Linked DNA regions of Homo sapiens: regions 2 and 3 are each linked to region 1. Evidence: promoter capture Hi-C in 16 types of primary human blood cells and fetal thymus (Javierre and others, 2016). All regions are on one chromosome and are shown on one strand. The core of a region is centred on a gene start or on the middle of the fragment in contact, and the rest is flanking DNA. Distances in the headings are between cores, read along the strand shown.

Region 1 (4,667 bases), core at 1,534-4,033:
CGAAACGTGACGTCCTCGCGAGTCCTAAACACATGTAACCTCGCTTAAAAAGTACCCTTGTTGCTCTTAGGTGTCCTGCGTCCTTCCCTTGTCAATCCATCCAAGCGGTAGTCCGGGCACTGCGCAGCGACGCAGGGCCCGCTTAACGTGATCAATTTCTCTTAAACAGGCGGGGGATGGGATACCGCAGCACCGAACGGCCGGAGGGATTCTTAGCTTCCTGGGCTTCTTCCTGCCTGCCCCGCCCAGAAGGAACCCAGACTTTGGTTGGCCTCCTGTGGAGGTCAAGGCTAGGGTTTGGGGGTCACCCCCTTGGGAGCTCAGAGCGGGATGGAGGACTTTTCAGCTCCTAGCAATTCTTGAATTTCGTTATCCTGGCTTTCTGAGGCTGTGCATTGTCAGCGACCTAGGAGACGCCTCTCTGAAGCCAGGCTTCTGAAACAGGTGAGCCCTTGTGGAGAGCCATCGTCACTAGCACTCAGGTGCACTCTGGCCTTGTCCTGTTGTGGCCTTGCTGACCAGCTCCAGGCAGAGGTGGTCATGATTTCTCTGGGAGGCACAGCCTGGGGGACCAACACCAACCTTGCTTCCATCTACTCTACATCTGCTCTACAACCTGCTCTACATCTACTAAGTTCTAGAGACCTGAGTCAGGATCAGTTTTCAAGATAATCTGGCAAAGCAGTGGTGAAACAACTCGGTTGCATGTTTCTTCTTTAAGATCAGGAACACTTTCTCTCCGAGAGCTCTTTAGGGATCCTACTACTTAGGGCTTTCTGGAAGTTCTGAGGCATATTGGCCAAGGGCCCTGTTTTAGAAAAGAAAGACAAGGAGAAACATAAAAGAAGCCCAGCTGAGTTATGAGGGGTGCATAGCAGGAGTTTGGGTATTTACACCCCAGGAGGTTCCATCCCACCTGAATGACCAGCCACTATTCCTAAGTGATCTGGACAGCCAGAGGCCCTATCGTGTGGGCATTTTTTTTACTTCTTAACTTTTGCTGCTGGTAATGGAGGTTACCCAAGCTTTGCTTATTTGGAGAGCCTGAGGCTGGAACAAGCACACTCCCTGTGCCCAAGGTGGAAGCCAGCAAAGTTCAGCATTGCCCTGTGTAGACTTTCCCTCCAGGCCTTTCCTTGCCCTTGAAGCTTTCTGTTCTGGAATCTCTAGGAAGGAGGTGTGATCTCAGCTCTCTTCTCTTCCAAGGGTTCTTACTCTAGCAAGAATGTCACTACATCCTAGCAACTGCTAAGATTCCAGGAGCATGGACAAACTTATGTGAATCTCTTACTTCTGCACTAACCTGAGGCACTGGGTAAAAGCTGTTCGTTGGAGCAAAGATTGCACCCCCTCTTACTCCTCCTCAAACAAGACGAAGTTACCCAGGGGTTAGAGGCTAGATTCTGTTCTAAAGGCCTGGGGATATAAGGAAATCCTCTTTCAACTATGCCTTTGAGGGAGGGGAGTCTTCATTACCATCTCCCTAGGTCAGGTATTACAACCTTCTTCACCTCCCAAGAAAATCAGATTAGCTTTGCAAACCAAAGCTGGAGATAGCAGAAGCTCCTCGGGAGAGAAGCAGTACAGTACTTAGGGACCCACGGAATCTAGGATCCAGCTCCAAGAGTCACTCAGCAGCAACTCTGGGGCAAAGGCAGAGAGTGCAGTTGTGTGATCTGGACCCACACAAGTCCCAGGAAACCAGTGACTCCTCCTTGCCAAACCCAAGGCCTGGAAGGGTATTCCAGAAAGGCATTAGGGAGGGATTGGGCTGGGGTCAGCCGGAGGTCAGCTTTCAGAGATGGGTAGTCAAGGGGGTGATGGTACCCTCCATAATGCCTAGGCAATGAAGATAGAATTTTTAATGTCCAGAACTCTGATTCCTTTCCGATTAAAAACTCCACCTGAACCAGCTCCTTGACTCAGAGGCCCTGGAACTGACAACTTTGCAGCTCGTCTAGCTTGCCAGTGCGGCTCTCTAAACTCTGATCCATCCTAAAACAAATATGTAAGTAGAGAGTGCCACTGTGCATTGGGGTGAAATCTCAGAGAGTTCTGGGCCCCAGGAAAATAACTTTCCTGACCTCCTTTCCCTACTCTTTGTTCTTTCTACTGGACTCCAGAACTTAGGGTCTGGGGTCAACCATAAGCACTCAGATGTTACAGCTCGCTTGCTTCGGTGACCCTGGCCCTCCCGCACCAGGAATTAACCAGCGCTGCCTGGGTTAACACCCTGGCCCCGAGCACGCTTGGATAGCCAGGAGCTGCTCCACACTCGGGGTCTGCCGCCTCTGGAAAGAGATTCTGGGAGGAGATGCGACTCTGTCAGGCGCCAAAGTGCGTTGAAACCCAAGCCGCGGTGTGGGGATCCCGGTGCACAGAGCTACTGCCCCTCCCTCCCTCCTCCCAAAGAGCACGGGCTGTGTCCTAGGAGCCCAAGTATAGGACCTCGAAACGTGCGGTGCCAGCCCGCTCTCATCTGCTAGGGACCGTTTCCTCCAGTGCGCCAGGCGTGCCGCTCTGGACCTAAAAAGGCAGCAGGGGTCGCGCGGGACTGAAGAGGAGGGGACGCAGGTTGGGAGAGGCCGGGTCCAAGCGAGAGCAGCTGCCAAAGTCTGCTGCCCGGGTCAGCAAAAACTTTGTCTTTCATTGCGCAGGCGCAGGGCAGGGTTGGGGGGCAGGGGAGGGAGGGGAGGAATCCTGAGGCAAGGGGCGGGGGTGGGGGTGGTGGAGGAGGGAGGGTGGTGGATTAAAATAAGTAGGCGGCTCGGTGCTAAGGGATGAGTGAGTCGGAGCTCGGCCTCTCCCCGGCACGTTCTCAGCTGCTCCTGGTTCAGACCCAGCGAGGGAGCCGCGAGCGAGGCTCACCGTCCCCGGCGTGCAGGATCCGGGGCTGCTGAGCGCTCGCTCCCGCGTGTCCGGCGCTTGGAGTCCCCGCGGCAGGAGAGGAGTCGGGACACTAGAGCTCCAGGGGCGCCTGTGGGCTCCAGGGCCTCCGGCTTCCCCAGTCCCCTTCAGCTAAAGCCCCAGAGACGTGCTCAGCCCCAGGACCTCTGCGGAACAAGGTAATTGCAGTCCTGGGCGCCTGGGCTCAGCAAAGCGAATGCGGGCAGGACTCCCAGGTTCCTTGTCACTGCTCGGCGGGTGCCTCCTCTCTCTCAATGCCCCTGAAGGAAGCTCTTGCCAAACGAATGCTGTAGGACTTTTGTGAAAGTGAGAGCAGGGTGGTTGGGGGTGCTGCCTCAGGACTTCCTGCGCGGGGTCCTCGGCCTCTGACCGCTGGGGATTAAGGGGGGCGGGCCTCCGCTACTGCGGCCAGCCCGCCCGGCTCTGCGGAATCACGGGCGAGGTGCCCACGGACTTTGAAAGTCAATCTGTGGGCCCCCTTTAAGAAACCAGAGCAACTTCAGCGGGCACAAACTTTCCTGAGACGCGCTCCTAGCTCTGGCTGACGCCCAGGTTGACGAAGAAGGAAGGGAGAGGGAGTGAATGGCCACAGCCGCAGCCGACCGCGCCAGGGACAGGTGCATGCCCCAGCTCGGTAGCGCTTTCGTTCAAGTTTGTCTTTTGAGGAGTTGCGCTCTAGTATGAGGCCGCCTAGACCCGAGAGCGCAGGGCTGCGAGTCTGAACCCCGCCTTGCACTCGCGCTCTAACTTAGGGATATTCTCCATAGGATGATTGCTCTGTGTCGTCAAGGCCTGGAGCGGAACCCTTGATTGTCCTGGTGCAGGGAGGCAATGCAGTGGGCGCAAGCACTGCTTTCCAATTCGAGACCCACACACAGCACTAGTGGAAACTCTGTGGAGCCCTAGGGTCTCCGGGCTGGGGACAGGAAAAGTTCTGTTACTCCCCTGACTGTCCGCTAATCCAGCCGTCAGGAGAGAAAGAAGGGGGAAAGGGGTGAAGGGCTGCCTGCTGAACTAATTTCTCCTCGGAAATGTCTCGGAGAAGAATGAAAAACCACGTTTAGTCCTTTTTCAGCAGCTCAGGCAGTAGCGGGTTGGGTTCTCAATGTGTAAAGTAGCCGCAAGGGTTTCTTTGTTGCCACAATTTGGTAAATTTCACCCAGGCTAAGAGCTGCGCATTGGCTCTGCGGAACAAAACCACGTGCAAGGCTAGGTGTCCCAGGTTCACAACCCCCTAGGGAAGAGAAGCGCTGGAGGGGACTAGCAGCGACCGGCGGCGTGTAGATGTTCCATCCCAGGCTCCTCGAGGTAATTGCTGTTTTATTAAGATTGGGGAATGGATCACCGAGGACGCAGCGGACATTTAAGTGCAGCCGGATGACCGCCTTGCCAATGGGTTCGTTAGATCTCGTTTGTTGGGAGAATGCTATAGAAGTATCCGGTGCCGGTCAGTCCTCTTCACGGGGGTCCGGACGCCTGTCACCACTCGTTGGAGATTCGATGTCAAGGCTGATTTTCTTGGGTTGCTGCTGGGCTCCCCCAGGCGCAAACTCGTGGAGTTCGCTCCCGTTCTCATTAATGCAAGCAGTTAACTTGCTCACGCTCAATTAGCCCCGAATAAACCACTTTAATAGACTCTGCACACTTCATTAATGCCCAGCATAGGACTGGCCGCAGACCTGGGATTGGCGCTCCACCGCGCGAGGGACGCGAGTGCCCGCACTGCGCAGGGACTCGGGATCCCGAGCGCGAATTGCGTC
Region 2 (4,667 bases), core at 827-3,326, 500 kb before region 1:
TCAAAGAGGAGTTTGTTAATTCCTAAAGAGGCCCTTTTGCCAAATGGAGATTATTTTGTAATGTGAATGTTTGTCCCCATTACAAGTCACTCAGTTAACAAGTTAGCATGTTTTCTTTCTGTGTCTCTGCTGCTGACTCAGGGGCCCAGGACTGGCTCTGGCTTCTGCACAGGCAGGTGTCCTCTTTGGAGGCCACCCCCACCATCCCCACTGACAGTGGTAGCCTGAGCCCACTTTCCCACTTCCCTCCTCAGTAGGAAGGACCAAGATGGGAGCCCTGCCCAGCACTCCCTGCCTCTTCTCCCCATGCCCCCATGGCTCCACTCTGGTTTTGTAAGAGTGGGCTTGCTCATTCGCTGTGATAGGGCTGCTTTTAGCCTCCCTGACCAGACAGGTTGCCCCTGGGGCTGAATATGTGGCCTCCTGGCAGTGGGGCTCTGTGGAAGTGCTGAGGCCCAGGAAATGTGGCACGGGGCACTACACGTCTGGCTTTAATGAGCTATGGCCTTCAGCTGTGGAAGGCTGGTGGTGTGGGGAACTGAAGAGTTCTGGGAGGAGGTTGGGGGCGAGGGGCTGCCTTCCAGGCAGGGTGCAGGAGCCTTGGAGAAGGTGCTAGAAGCTGGGGTTCCTGTGCCAAGGGCTGGGAAGGCAGGCAGAGTCCTGGTTGGTGGAGTCATGGATAGGGGCTGGGGTGGGTGTGGGGCTGGATGGTTTGTCCTGCTCCCATGCCAGCCTCCCTCTGAGTTTGTGGGCCCCTCCTGAAGTCTTGGTGTGCCTGGACCTGGGTTAAGCCACACTGCAGGGAGGTACATGTGTACAAAGTGATCTTTCTTCCAGAAGAACACAGTCTACGAAGGCATTTCTGCAAACTTGTGAGATGCCTGTGCACACCTTGTGGTGGCCCTGAACTGATGGCTGAGGTGTGCTATAGAAATTAGAGAAGGGAGGAAGAAGTTCATTGCCGGTTGAGCAGTTCAGGGAAAGCTTCCTGGAGGAGGCGGAGTTTGAGCAGGGCCAGTGGGGATGGAGGGTTTGTCCTGGAGGAAGGAGAAGGAGGGCAGTCAATGCAGGGAAATAACACACCTGACATGTACTCATGTTAGGGGCCACGTCCGCACCTCTCAACTCCCTTGCTCATCTCCAGGGCTTGCATCTGACTGAACTTCCCACTCTTCCCTCTCTACTCCAAGCCTCTCTGGCCCCCCACCTTTGCCCATGCCCCCATTCTCTCCAGCTTGTATGTGTATCTCACCCCCGCATCTTGTTAGCTCTGTATGCTGAAATCCTGCTAGCGTGTCCGGACACTTCTTGTTGGTTTCACCTTCCTCCATTTCTCTCAACCTTCCTCTCTGCACCAGAATCCGATCCATCTTCGCCTCACTTGGCAATTATAATCATTCAACCTCCCCCAAACCCTTGTTCATAGCCCAGCACACATCTGCAGGGCCCACAGTTTGCTGGGCATTGGGGGTGCACATTTTCTGCCTGCAGAAGTCCCAGGACTGGCAAGGTTCATACTGAGATGCCAGCCTGGGGACTCTGCCAAGGCCTTGGCAAACTTGTCTCAGCATCTCCCAGGCATTTGCCCCTTCCTGCCAGGAACAGGGCAGAGGCGGAGGTGACTGTTTCCCAAGAGCAATGGGCAAATCCATCTTGCTTGGGTTTATTCTCGTCATTTCCTGAAGTATTAGGTCACCCAGGTTGTTAGTGAGGACCTTATTTGGAGAGCCTGGCTTCCTGGTATGAAGTGGAGAACCTAGGAGGGGCAGGCCCTCTGGTCTTAGTGGCTACGCCATCAGAAACACAATCGTGTTTCTCTTTCACCGCAAGCACTGGGAATTGAAGTATGTACGGAAATACAATTCATAAATTGAGGGACTTTATTTTCACTGTTCCCAGGGTTTAATTTCCAGAAACAAAATGTCAGTGTTATGGCTGAAGTTCTCTTAGTTTTAGGAAACACATCATAACCCAGAATTGTTTATGCATAGTTCATGTATTATATGACAAGAACGGTTTTGAGAGTCATCAAGGGTCAGAGGACTGCGGTTACACGGCAACAAGGCGATCTGAGTGTGGTGAGTGTGGTGAGTGTGGGGATCCAAACCTCGATCTTACGTCTCCCCTCCCAGGAAAATCCCAGGGAGTGGTTGTTCTTCTAGAAGCCTGCAGCTGCGGGTAACCGGTTACCAGGGAGTGCGTGGACCTGTTGCTCACAGAGAGCCTGTGTGTGTGTGTGCATGTGAGCATGTACTTATGCGTGTGAGCATGTGTGCCTATGTGTATGTGCGTGTGCATGCACACTTGTGGTTAGTGTGAGAAAGAACACTGGCCGAGGCAGGAGAAATGGGCTACAGTCCTGCCCACCCACTTGTTACCATTGTGGCCGCTCCCCTGCGTCTGCAGTGTGGGTGCACGGATCCCTTCCTTAGAGGTCACCCAGCATTTCATGACATCTGTGTATTAACAGCAGAAGTGAAGGGGCTCTCGGGCAGCCTTGGGGATTCTGGAAATGCCCACTGGAGGAGCTGAGGCTTGCTGGACACTGGGCGTGTGGTCCTTGGATCTTTCCCAGTGGCGCCATGGGCCACGGATTCCGGCGGGGCTCAGGATCCAGTGGCTCTCCTACCTCCTTTTCCTTCACGTGGGTTGTTGGGCCCCTCCTGCATGCAGCGCAGCCAGGTGGTGAAGGTGAGAGCCGCTGCTGTCGCTGCTCCTGGCCTGTGGGAGAAAAGTCCCTCCAAGGTCACCTTTGTAGCTTGTTCATGAGCAGAGCATCAATTGGATCTAATATTTTTACAAGATGCCCCCCAAATAAAGATCAGCATTTGGCTCAGTTCATTTCAGCAGAGGGCTCAGCTTTGTCTGCTGCCCTGTGTATGGAGGGATAGACAGGAAGCGCCACTTCTAGAGATAGCTCTGGCTGCTGCCTCTCAGGAATCCTGGCCTGGGCGGCCTGACGGGGCTACCAGCTTCCCTCCTGAGGATCTGTTGGTGGCTCACACCAGGTAGGTTTAGGGGTGAGGGCTGGGCGCACCTGGCCAGGGCCTCTCCGCAAGTGCAGAGCCCTTGGTCCATCTCGTGCCTCCACTGGGATCCCCGTGTCTCCGCTTCTGCCCTGTTTCAAACTCCAAACAAGATTTTCAGATGGCAGAAACTGAAGCTTGGAGGAGAACAACTTAGATCAAGTTGACTTAGTGTTTGCTCTCAGCCAACGAAGCCCTGAGGCTGCCTTCCTCAGGGAGCTTTGCCCACATTTCTGAAGAGTGTGCAGGGCACGTTTCTGGAGGACAGAGCCTGCATTTCCAGACAATGGCTTTCAGAGGATGCTCTCAGGTCTCCCGTGTGCCCTGCCTGTGGTTAAGTGTCTTTCTGCTACATAAACAGCTCAGAGACTCAACTCTCCCGAGACCGAGACCGGAGAGGAGCTCTTACAGTGGTAAGAATCCACCTTGCCTCTGGCAAAGTTGCTCTGGATGAGGTTGATTGAGCTGCATGCCTCCATTCCTTCCAGAACAATGTCCCTCCTCACCTACATCCATGCCCAGCCTTTGGAGCCAGGGGCCCCACAGGTGCTGGTTGCTGGGATAGATAAGGAAAGCCTCAAGCCCCTTCTGAGACCCTCCCTACTAGCCACACATCGGAAGGAACAGAACTTTGAGCTCCCTCATCTGTAGCCGAACCTAGTGTGAGAAGGAGGGTCAGAGGAGGCGAAACTTTGAAATCGCAGGGCCACTCCTCTGCCAGCCCCATCGGCCTCACTCTTGGAGACTCGGGGATGAGTCACTGCTCTGACAAGCGGGTCTTGAGGACAGTCCTTGCATGCACAGCTGATGGGGAAGGTTCCCTGCTCAGGCACCGCTTCCTTCCTTGAGCAGAGCAAAGGGCCATCCTCACAGAGAGGCTTGCTTCACCTGTCGCGTGTGGCCCTGGGACTCTGGAAGCTGCTAGTGTTGTGGTGGTGGCTGCTGTCCCGGTGCGGCAGAGGACACAGGAGGCACGCTCCTCCCGCCAGTGGGGAATTGCAGTGTGTTACGTGGCACGAGAGACTCCAGCGCTGTTCTGAAGATGCCAATCCATGCTTGGGTTGTTTGGATTTGCTGTTAATTTGGGGACTCTGGCTACCCCGTCAAAGGCATGGAGTGTGCAGTTTTTAATAATTGTGATCCAACCATGCCATGATATGGGCTTTCTGGTTTCCTGGACACTGGGCAGCAGTAGTTTGAAGTTGGGAGATATTTACTCTGCAAAGCATTTTTCCAAATGTTCTTTAAGCTGATGCTCCCAGACTTTCATCAGGAGCCGGGCAGTATCGCCTCCCCTCCCCGACTTGTTCTTCTGGGGTCTGATGGAAGGAGATGGGGTCTGGAGGCCTGCAGGGGCAGGGAGCCTTGTTTTACTGCATGGGAATGTTGCTGAGTCTATCTTCCTGATGTTGTTCTTACATTATTTCCTCTGGTTGGAGTGAACAGGGAAGTGGGGGCACATCTGTGTTCTATGAAAGCTGACCTGGAGCTCCCCACGCAGCGGGGTCCACCTTAACTTCCCTTTTGCGGTTGGAGTCGATAAAATGGGTTATTGAGTTGTCCTTGTGATGGGGCCTGTATTGTCGGATCCTGTCCAGGGGCCAAGAGGTGAACTCAGACAGGATGCGTGCTTTACTCTGT
Region 3 (4,667 bases), core at 624-3,123, 480 kb before region 1:
GCTCCTAGTTTAAGAAATTGGTGGGTGGGAAACATTTTTGGCAATCACCCCTGAAGCTTCTCTTATATCCTCTTTCTTTTTGCTCTTCAACCCCCAAATCCGAAAGAATCATATGGTTTATTTTTAAAACAGAAACAGCCCTGGATTGCCCGGTCTCCAGGGGCAAGAACATCTCTTCCCATCATTCAGGTCTAACCTGGGGACAGAAGGCAGCCCTGGTGTGAGGGACAGAGGCTTGGGGTCAGGGGTGGTGGAAGACGGGGCATCTTTTGTGCTCATAGTGGGCCAGATGACATGGGGAATCCCAGCGTTTGCCTGCAATGCCTTGGAAAGAGCAAGCTGGAGCCCAGAGAGGTGTGGGAATTGGCTCAAGGTCATCCAAGGAGGCAGCACCAGGGTTGGCTCCTTCGCCCATGCCTCCTGCTTCCAATTTGGGGTTCTTTCTATTGAGAAGTCTCAGATTTGAACGTTGGGGTGGGGTTTGAAGAAGAAAAATCTTAGAGAAAGAAGAGGAAAGACTTTAGATTATAGAAATGAGCAAGGGAATTCCGGGATGATGGGAGAGAGGAAAGTATGAAGGAGCAGGGGAATAAGCTCATCAAGAGTGAGAGAATTGTGTGATCAGAGCCCACAGGGCATGGCTGCAATGCAGTGAGTCAGGAGTGTTTGGATCAAGCCTGCCCCACATTGTAATTCCATAGAATGGCTGTTTCTGAGGGTAGGAAGCCTGCAGGGGTCTAAGGCCAGTGTTCCATGGCAGTTTATATTGCAGGGAGCCTTGGGGGCTGGCACTCAGGTTGGGGGAAATTGGTGTTGTCAGACAGATCTTGCCTTTGCTCCCCATCCAGGAATACACTTGAACTTGACTGTGGATTGGGCAGAACTGGCAGTGTGAACTTTCACACATTCCTGACCCTTGCTAAACTGTTCATGGCTCTCCAGCAAAGGCATGGGTGAGCAGGGGGAGCACCCTGGTCCCCTGGGCTTGAGTCTGAGCCCCACTACCTTCTCACCCAGTGACCACTGGCACATGTGTTCCCTCCCCCAGGCCTTCCTGTCCTCATCAGTGGGTGGTCTCAGCACTTCTTGCCCTTCTACCCATGGCGGGCCCCCTTGTTTGTGTGTTTAGCTCGCTCTTCTCTGTTCTTCTGGCAATAGTGCTCCCTTCTTCTCCATGGATGGCCTCTCCTCCATGTGAATTGAGTGCTCCTCATGGAGGCTGCCAGCTGTACTCACTCTCCTCCCAGCCCTGCTCATGATCAGAATGAGGTCAGTGGTCTCATCCCACTCCTCTGGCCACAGTCATTTTATAAGAGAATGTCAGGAAAGAACATGACCAAAATTGTTCCTGAACATATAAGACACCCACTGGTGAAATCTTCACTAAGAAATAAGAGAGAGAGACTTGGAGGGGTGCTGAGTCCATGTGCAGTGCATGGAAGCTAAGAGCCTCCATTGTGCTGTTGTTAATGTGACCAGATGTCAACCCATGGGCTGGTGGGGACTGAGAGGGTATTGAAATACAATAGGGTTGCATCTACTTGGTAACTTTTGCTCTCCAGGGAGAGAAATCCCAGCACAAACCAGGGTAAGCAAAAAGAGAACTTATCAACTCACTTCTCTTAAAAGGCAGAGGTTGGGCTGGTTTCAGGTGGCACTTCACTCAGTCAATGTCACCAGGGTCTAGCCTCTCTCTCGTCTCTCCCTCTTCCTCACCTTCAACTCCACTTCCTCTGGATTGACTCCATTTGGAGGCCAGATCCGTCTCTCAGGGTACTAAATGGCAGCCTTAGCTCCCAACCTGATATTCCCTCAGATTCAAGTCCAGCAGGAAATATTAATAGCAGCGGTCTCTTTCCCAGAAAATTCTGCCAGTGTCTCATTGCCTCTCATTATTTCTGACTGAGTCCCAAATTAATTGTTGTGACTGGGGAGCTGTGATAATCTAGTTGGTTTTTAGGCTTACATTATAGGCTCCAGCCCTAATTATGGTGAGAAGCTCCACCAAAACCTAGGATCTAAGAGTGGAGGAGAGAATACATTTATCAGCAGAAGGGTGAGTAGATCCTCAGAGGCAAAGGCCACAGGAGTCTCTCTCAGAGACCTTTAGCACTCAGCAAGCTGCCCACACCTCAGAGCCACTTTCACATTCTCTGTTCATCGTCATGGACACTGTAACTGCTATGAGGTGATTCAACACTTGGTTCCAGTGGGAAAAGGAATGACCATTAAAGAATGCCAAAAACTATTGCTGGAGATAGATGTATAGAGAAACTGGGTGGGTTAAGAAAATGAGCGTTTGAAGTTTTGGACAAATTAGAAGAAGGAATGTTGAATTCAGCAGGGACTCACTCCAATGGTGTAAATGAATTTACCAGGAGTTCTATAAGAAAACACCAGGCATCTCCTGAAACCATTTTAACAGCTTCTCTAATGGTTCAAAATGGCTCCCCAAATGAGAGAAAACTAATGGAAGTTGGAAAAACAGTTACCTGTGATTCAAGAGAAAGCCTGGATCTGGTACAAACATTTGAATTTCCTTGACTCTATAGTTCATAGACATCTAAGAGTGCATCGCTTATGGAAGTTAAGGGCCCACCCTTCTTTCTGCCTTTTCTGCTGCAGAAGCAGTCTTGGTATCACACAGGAACGTAGGAGACTGTGATTTTTGCATGTCCAGCACCTCGTTTTTCTACTTCAACAAGCAGCACCCCAGCTCTCCTTTGGGCGAAATCCCCTTCCCCCATGCTCATTTCATGCAGTTCAGGTGGGACCAGCAACCGACCCCCACCCACCTGTAAGCTGCTCCAGAGTGAACGTGTGACCCAGGGCTGGCCGATCTGCTTATTCCATCTCCCTGGTCACAGTAATTGGTTCAAGAATGGGCAGATGGCTCAAGTCAGTGAATCAGAATCAATCATGGAACTTCTATTGGAGCTATGAGGAAAGGGCCATGAGGGTGCTAAGCTGGTAGGATGTTCACTGAGAGCCACTGGTGGAAGCATTGCTACTTCAGACAGAGCCTGAGAATGAAGGCGACACAGAGACAAGCAGCGCCAAAGTTTGGTGAGAGATACGGTCCTGTCCACAGCTTCTGAGGGCCTGAATCAGCCATGCCTGAATTTAGACCTATCCCTAGAATTTTCAGATACAGTGAGTTCTGTGTGTGGGTTTCTCCTTCTCCTCCCTTTCCCCTCCCCTCCCCTCCCTCCTTCCCTTCCTTTCCTTTCCCTTCCCTTTCCTTCCCTTCCCTTCCCTTCCTTCTTTTTCCTCTTACCCACTCTTATTCTTCTTTCCTTCCCTCCTTTTTCCTCTTCTTCTCCCTTTTTTTCTTCTTCCTCCTCCTCCTTCAGCCAGTTTGATTCATTCATTTAATAGATATTCACTGAGTGACCATTATGTGTACCCTTCAGTGTTTTTTCCAGACCATCAAATGTGACTTGGAAGTAATACAACATTTGTTATTTATGAAGACTTTTTTCATCCATTCGCTCATTATACCCCTCCTAGCAAACTGATAAAGTGTGTTACTTAGAACTCTGGCTACAAGTGACAGAGATCCAGAACCCCTGTCTTGGGCTGGAGGGAGAGACAGTCACCATACCATTCCCTGGTATGGTTCCCATTCCCCTCCTTACACTATCTGTCTCCCCAGGAGTCTCTGCATCCCTTCACTCCTAAAAAGCTTCCGTGTATACCAGCTCATTTAAACAGATTCCAAGAGCAATGACCAGACTTCTACTCATGTGGCCAGAAAGACTGTGAATTCCAGCTTGGCTTTAGTTGGGTCACCCTATGATGTTATGCTGTTATTTGATGCAATGACAGTGCACCACCACTCCCCTTGGCCCTGTCCATTTTGTGCACCGCTGTCTTGGGTATGCTCTTGCTTCCAATCCCCAGCACTTGGAGCCTGCAGCTCTTCTTTGAAGGACTTCCCTCATACCCTTGGGCTACTGGTGCTGCTTTACTTTGCATAGAAGCCAGAAATGAGTGGGCAGTTACCTCTCCCCTGGACCAGTGACTGTGAGGGGAGGGGTTATGAAAGCCTTTGCTGAAGGTTTGTCAATCCTGAGGAGTCTTACAGCAGGATCGGACTCAGAGTGTCCTCTGTGGGTCTCTGCCTACGATCAAACTCACTTTCTTTCTTTCCTTCTCTGTTCTTACCAGTTTCTCCCAGTTAGACTTCCTTAAGAAATCACTTGAATGCAAACTCTCATTTCAGGGCCTATTTTGGGGAATCTGACCCAAGAACCCAGGCTTTCTCCAGCTCTGTGGGACAAGGAGAATGCTTGCTTCTCTAAGTGTGGTCTGTGATGGTCTACAGATTTCACAGACAAGCCACAATCTGTTCTTTGTCATCTAGCCCCTGTTCTGGCTTGACCTAGGGGAGGTCAAGCAGTTAGCAGGGGAATCTGGTCTGGACTGTGCCATGTCAGGGACCTAAACTTGTGATCTCTCTGCCACTTCAGTTGTTTGTTCTACCTTCTGTTAGGCTGATCCAGCATCTTTGGCCACAACAAGATCCACCTGGCTCCTGTGACTACATCTGTGTTTCTGTCTGTGCCACCTGATTGATTAGAGGAGTCCCTTGGTCACCATGGGGGGTAGGGGGGAGGCTTCATGTCCCTTTAGAACTGGCTAGGCCAGTCTGTCTTCTGGACTGG

The links. The method cuts DNA at HindIII sites, captures the fragments that hold promoters and counts their contacts. A CHiCAGO score of 5 or more calls a contact.
Region 2: a fragment that was not itself captured here is called in contact with the fragment with the promoter of OSR1 in region 1 in 15 of 17 cell types (megakaryocytes, naive CD8 T cells, M2 macrophages and 12 more); the score reaches 16.8 in megakaryocytes.
Region 3: a fragment that was not itself captured here is called in contact with the fragment with the promoter of OSR1 in region 1 in 2 of 17 cell types (erythroblasts and total CD4 T cells); the score reaches 5.8 in erythroblasts.

Annotation. Positions count from the first base shown.
Region 1 is chr2:19,356,739-19,361,405 of GRCh38, reverse strand. OSR1 (odd-skipped related transcription factor 1) reads left to right here and starts at 2,783. Exons shown (of 3, transcript NM_145260.3): 1 at 2,783-3,065. RefSeq lists enhancers at 2,911-3,439, 4,105-4,667. The HindIII fragment of the contact is 8,359 bases long and covers 1,151-4,667 here.
Region 2 is chr2:19,857,229-19,861,895 of GRCh38, reverse strand. No RefSeq gene overlaps it. Among named protein-coding and RNA genes, the nearest start is that of LINC00954, 9.3 kb to the left of the region's middle. The HindIII fragment of the contact is 2,179 bases long and covers 987-3,165 here.
Region 3 is chr2:19,840,608-19,845,274 of GRCh38, reverse strand. No RefSeq gene overlaps it. Among named protein-coding and RNA genes, the nearest start is that of LINC00954, 26 kb to the left of the region's middle. The HindIII fragment of the contact is 3,629 bases long and covers 59-3,687 here.